Regions from separate parts of the Homo sapiens genome. Here region 2 is linked to region 1. The links are contacts of gene promoters, found by promoter capture Hi-C in blood cells and fetal thymus (Javierre and others, 2016). All regions are on one chromosome and are shown on one strand. The core of a region is centred on a gene start or on the middle of the fragment in contact, and the rest is flanking DNA. Distances in the headings are between cores, read along the strand shown.

Region 1 (3,183 bases), core at 177-2,676:
CCCTCATTCATCAGCCAGGGTTTATCTGGCCAGGAAAGAGAAGCCCCTTCAGGCATTTGCAACAGAGGGAGTTTAAGTCAGAGAACTAGTCACCCTGGTAGTTGAGATTGCCATCAGCAAGAAGCTGTTACCATTTGAAGGCTGCAGGGACAAAGGGAGTGAGCAGTCCTCTGGGAGACTGAGGAAGGAAGCTCCTGGCTTCTCCCCACTTTCCACTTTCCACTTCCCACTTTTACTCATCTGTCCTCCAATTCCCTTTTGGCTGAGCCTAGCTGAAACCCAGCTGACAGGGGAGTTTGAGCAAGCAGCCTCCAGGGTCAGCCCTCTGAGTTACAGGTAGAGCAGGACAGGGAGGAATGGATCTCAGGACAAACAGGTTCAGGATCCGGCAAACTAATTTTACACTCCAGCCATTGAGTTGGAACTACTGGCCAGCCTCCCCCCGAGTTAGCATGTAGAATATGGGATACCAGCTGAGTGCCTGAGAGTTATCATTCACCTCAGTGGGGGTAGGGGCGGAGAAGGGTGACATATAGCCAGCCACATCTATATCCACTGGCCCTTCCTTGTCCTAGTCCTCTGTATTCCTGAGAAGGAACTATTCTCAAGGACCTGAGTCCAAGTTCATCTTACTTAGAGTACAGAGAAAAGAACCGCTAACTCCTTCTCTCTTTCCCCCATCATGTCTCCTCTCCTTTCTAGTTCTCATCACTCTCTACTCCCCCCTGCCCCCCTTTTCTCCATCTCCATCACCTTTGTCCAGTCTCTATCCCCATTTTCAATTCCTTCCTCAAAACACCAAGTTGCTTGGTAGCATGCAGGGTTGGAACATGCCTTTAACAGAAAATCTCGTGTCTCTTGAACCTAGTTATTTATTCCTTGAGCAGAGTAGATATTCAACAAAAGAATTGTTAAATTCAATTAAATAGGATATATCTTATTATTAAATATTTTTTTCATTTTTTGTTTACTTATATGATGGGAACTTGAGTAGTTTCCGGAATTGTCTCCACAACACCTGGCCAAGGAATCTGTGAGGAAAAGAAAGATCAAATGGAAAATCAAGGTACATGACACCAGAAGACCTACATGTTACTTCAAACTTTTTCTTCCTCATGAACCATTAAAATAGAGCATAACTCTTCTGGCAGCTGTACATATGTTCATAAATACATGATATTGACCCATAGCATAGCAGCTCTGCTCAGCTTCTAACAAGTAAGAATGAAAAGAGGACATGGTCTTTAGGAACATGAATTTCTGCCCTTCCCATTTTCCTTCAGAAGGAGAGATTCTTCTATGACCTCATTGGGGGCGGAAATTTTAACCAAAATGGTGTCACCCCTGAACCCACTGCGACACGCCACGTAAGTGACCACAGAAGGAGAAAAGCCCTATAAAAAGAGAGACGATAGCGCTACATTTTGTCCATCTCATAGCAGGCACAAACTCATCCATCCCCAGTTGATTGGAAGAAACAACGATGACTCCTGGGAAGACCTCATTGGTGGTGAGTCCTGCACTAACGTGCGATGCTCTTGCTGATTTGGACCAGATAGTATTTCTGGACCGTGGGCATGAAACGCTGGGTTCTGACTATGGAGATCCAGGAATACTGTATATGTAGGATAGGAAATGAAAGCTTTGGTAGGTATTTAAGTCATTGTGCAGCATTTTCAAGAACTGATACACAGCAGTTTGAAAGATAAGATTAAAACTGAAAGATAGCTATATTGGGGCTAAACCACACAAGAAGTGTCACATGATGCTGTGCAGTAAGAAAGAAAATTTATTGAAAGTCTGTTTTTCTGAGTACAAAGGATTTAATATAATTCTCCCACGGCATTTTTCTTTAAAATGGGTCACTATCCTTGAGATTTTGAAAGCCGTAGCAGCAACAACCTTTGTTTCCATTATCTCGTACCATATTCTCAGTACATTGAAACTATGTATTCTAACTAAACATAGGTATAACTGTGTTTTAGAATAAGTGGGGTTTATATTTTTTAAATATTTAACTTCAAGTATCTTTTTTGAAATCTGATTTTATTACAGAATCAATACATGTTAAATTTAGAACAACTGGAAAATATACCTAAGAAAACATGAAGGAGATCGAGTTTTTAGTTGGATGCCTGCCAGTAGCACCAACAGCACTTCTAGCATGAATATTGATACCACATAGATTTTCTATAGCTCTTTCTTCCAATGTGAATGTTTGACTTCACGATGAGTTTCACAGAATATGGGACTGAGAACAATGGTGCAGGAGGATATTTCTACCTAGAAAATCAAGGTTATTATTCCTTCCCAGACCTGACAATGATGCATGTGCTGATAGGCTAATGACATGCCATGACTTGACATTTTTATTAAAATTATTGCCAACCAATGGATAACATGTCTTTCCTAAGTCAAAAGGAGAATGTTGAAACTAGTTTTTTTAAAAAAATTTTAAAGCCATGGTGTTAACATTATGTTGGTCATCTACCTAGATTTTTCTCTAGCTGATCTGAAAAATGTAGTATAGATTGTCCTGGAACATTGTGTGTTCTCTATGATTAGCAATGCATCATCATCACAATTAATTTGTCAAAAAGAACCACATAGTAATCTAATCTCCAACCTCTCTCTCCTTTCCCATTCAATTCTAGTCACTGCTACTGCTGCTGAGCCTGGAGGCCATAGTGAAGGCAGGAATCACAATCCCACGAAATCCAGGATGCCCAAATTCTGAGGACAAGAACTTCCCCCGGACTGTGATGGTCAACCTGAACATCCATAACCGGAATACCAATACCAATCCCAAAAGGTCCTCAGATTACTACAACCGATCCACCTCACCTTGGAATCTCCAGTACGTAAAGCTTCCAGATAAAAATGCTATATTCTTCATCCCTCTTATGCATCAGACTGCCAGTTAAATCTCCCTGAGGATGATTTTATTCATTTAGAATTACCAGTCAAACCTGGAAGGACCACTGTGAAGAGCAATTCTCAAACTTTCTACAGATTTCTTTAACCAAGCACAGGACAGCCTCCAATAATCCCTATCCTGTTAGATCTAATTGTCACTGACACCAATAATCAACCCAAATTAATTATAATCATTATTCTAATATTTATGAGACCCCAAGTCTATTCTTTATTTATTCAAAGAATAGACATTTATCAAAGAGGATT
Region 2 (3,183 bases), core at 238-2,737, 470 kb after region 1:
AGCCTCTTCTTCCCCTCTTGTTGCATGTGTGGCATCATTGATCTCAATATCCAAACTAAATTTTGTTTTGGGGAGGGGCCCATTTCATTTTGGTTGAGTGACCACAACAACCCCAGACAAGGGCCCAGTTATGGGAAATGCAGAGCAGATTAGGCTCAAAAAGGGACTTTTAGGCTTTAGGGAACCAGAATGTACCAGGGAGATCTCAGAGAGGAGAGAGCTGGGAAAGTGACCCCATGAAGTTGTTTTAAAAACTTGAGAGTGGGTGCAGTGGCTCACACCTGTAATCTCAGCACTTCAGGAGGCTGAGTAGGGAGGATCCCTTGAGTCTAGGAGCTCGATACTAGCCTAGACAACATAGTGAGACCCTGTGCCTACAAAAAAAAATTAAAATTAGCTGGGCATCGTGGTGTACATCTGTAGTCCCAGCTACTTGAGAGGCTGAGGTGGGAGGACTGCTTGAGTTCAGGAGTTCCAGGTTGCAGTGAGCTATGATCATGACATTGCACTCCAGCCGGGGTGAGACAGCAAGGCCCTGTCTCAGAAAAAGAAAAGACAAGGAAGAAAGAAAGAAAGAGAGAGAGAAAAAGAAAGAAAGAAAAAGAAAGAAGGAAAGAAAGAAAGAGAAAAAAGAAAAAGAAAGAAAAAGAAAGAAAGAAAAGAAAGAAAGAAAAAGAAAGAAAGAAAGAAAGAAAGAAAGAAAGAAAGAAAGAAAGAAAGAAAGAAAGAAAAGAAAAGAAAAGAAAGAAAGAAAAGAAAGAAAGAACAAACTTCGGCTTATTCCCAAATGGTGCATACATAGATCTGACCATGAAAAGCGTATCTTTAAACTTTGAGAACTGAACTATGGGAGAGACCATTACCCATGTGCCAGACTGGCCACTAGGTGGCATATACATCAGCTGGATCTGCATTGCACTGCAAAGCCTTTGCAAACAGAACTGACATTGAAGCTGCAACCCACAGAAGGTTGGTCGGAACTTGGAGCTTGAAATCAACTGGTTTGACTGATGGCTAAAGCAAAAATGTCAACATTCCATCTGATTTAAATAACACCAAGAGTCTCACAAGCTAATATTCAAAATGTCCAGGATATGATCCAAAGTTATTCAGCATACAAAGAACCAAGAAAATATCAATTTACATGTGTTAAAATTCACAAACTGTATACCAAAAAAGTCAGTTTTACTGTATGTTAATTTAAAAAATGATGCCATTTCCTTGCAGTGAGTACACAATCTAGTTAGGGAGATAGAATCATAAATGAATAACGACATGATGTTAAATACCCTATGATGATTTAAAACAAAAACATGGATAGGATAATGCGGGAGCACAGAGGGATACCTAGCCCAGTCTGGGGAGTGGAGATCAGGAGGTTGAGATTAGTTTTCAAGAAGAACAGATGTTTTAATTGATTCTGAAAGAACAAGTAGAAGAAGCTAGGTAAAGTGGCAGAAGGTATTCACTCCTAAATAAGGGGCAGTCTGAGCAAAGATATCAAGAAAAGTAGAGGTGGGAAGTATAAACGGTTCTATTTTATTGGGGTATTAGCTGACAGGCAGAGAGTGGCAGAAAAGATGGTGGATTTCCCAGGACCAGGTCATGGAAGGCTTCAAATACCATCTTATACCACATTTAACCCTATTAGAAATCCTATTGGGAATAAATTCTTAGTTTTGTCAACATTAACACGATGGTCACAGCAAAATCATGGCATCCCTGTGGGCCTTGATCTCTTGTGGCAGAAACTATTGGTATACACCAGGGTCTGTTTGGTCTTCCCTGTTTTGCAGCTTCCCTTGCAATGAGGTTGGCTGTGTGATCAATCCTGCTTATGGATGTGAGGGAAAGTGCTGCATGCCATGCTCTGGGTTTGGATGTTAAGTATCCAGGGTGCCTTTCCAAAAATCTGTTTCCCTTTCACATTGACCTTAGAGGCCATGTGTTGAAGAGCCATCAGACAAGATGGAAGGAACCTGGATCACTGAGTCATCACTTGACTGACCAGGAACATCTATGTGCAATTGCACAAGTGAGCAATAAACTATCCTCCTGTTAAACCACTGAGATTTCATACTTTGTTTTTTAATACATTATAGCCCAGCTTATTTGACTAACAGTTTCTCCATCTCTTTATCAAGAGCATGAATAGCCTTCCTCCAAAGTCTTTCCCAGCTCCATAAATCCAACTTATTCTAAGGAGGCCCTCTCCAGTCAGCTGGCTCCTTCCTGGTGCCTTGCTCAGGCTTCTTGGGATCTGTCCTGCCTATGTTCTTCCTCTCCAGGATAGTTCTATATCTTACCTTGGAGAAGGATCATGACACCAGAGGCACTCAGGATTGGATAGATCCTCAAAGCTCACCTAGTCTACCTTACTTTGTAGTGCCTGAGTCACCTCTGCAACATCCCTGCCAAGTGGTGGTCCAGGGTCTGGTTATTGAAAACCTCCAGTACCCGGAAACTCATTGCTTCGCCATATAAAAGTTCCTTCTTTCTCTACATTCTAAAAAGCACACTGCACTGCCCATAATGACTAACCCCCGTGGACTGCACCTAAGTTCTCCCTATTTTATTTTTTAAATGAATAAGTAGGGACTCCATTTAAATGAATGAATAGTAATTGCACTTGAGATATCTGAGCCTTTTTCTGACCTCTTCCTATTATGGTGACATTTTTTTTTCTTTACACAATGGCTGTGTCTTTGATGAATTTGTGTAGCCTGTATATGAGTTCAGAAATTATCCTTATGTCCATCAACTCCATGTGCCCTCTAGCAGAGAGCCCTTTCTTTGAGAAGATCTTGTCTGTAATGTCAAGGACAAAGTCTGATAATAAGTCATAGCTGTCCTGCAGTTCAAATCTTTGGAATCTTTAAGTCTCTATATGTCCACAGGGAATCTCTAAAACCACAAACATCTTTAAAAGGTCAATACAATGAAAGAAGAAAACAAAAATGAATATCCTTATCTGGCTGGAAAGTTTTAACGTGAAAGCTTTTTGTAGTGAGGGACTCTCTGATATAGAGGCTATTCAGTTCATAATGCTGGATAATCAAACCCAAAACTACAAAAGGAAAAATTGACCAATTTGACACATCAAAATTTCAAATTTTACCTTGCAAAAGACTGCTGAGAGCATGAAAATACAGACTGGAAGAAAACATTTGCAAACCACATATG

What was found. The method cuts DNA at HindIII sites, captures the fragments that hold promoters and counts their contacts. A CHiCAGO score of 5 or more calls a contact.
Region 2: a fragment that was not itself captured here is called in contact with the fragment with the promoter of IL17A in region 1 in 3 of 17 cell types (naive CD4 T cells, naive CD8 T cells and total CD8 T cells); the score reaches 6.6 in naive CD4 T cells.

Annotation. Positions count from the first base shown.
Region 1 is chr6:52,184,949-52,188,131 of GRCh38, forward strand. IL17A (interleukin 17A) reads left to right here and starts at 1,427. Exons shown (of 3, transcript NM_002190.3): 1 at 1,427-1,510; 2 at 2,655-2,857. The coding sequence starts at 1,484. The HindIII fragment of the contact is 1,880 bases long and covers 1-1,640 here.
Region 2 is chr6:52,651,344-52,654,526 of GRCh38, forward strand. No RefSeq gene overlaps it. Among named protein-coding and RNA genes, the nearest start is that of TMEM14A, 18 kb to the right of the region's middle. The HindIII fragment of the contact is 3,016 bases long and covers 1-2,995 here.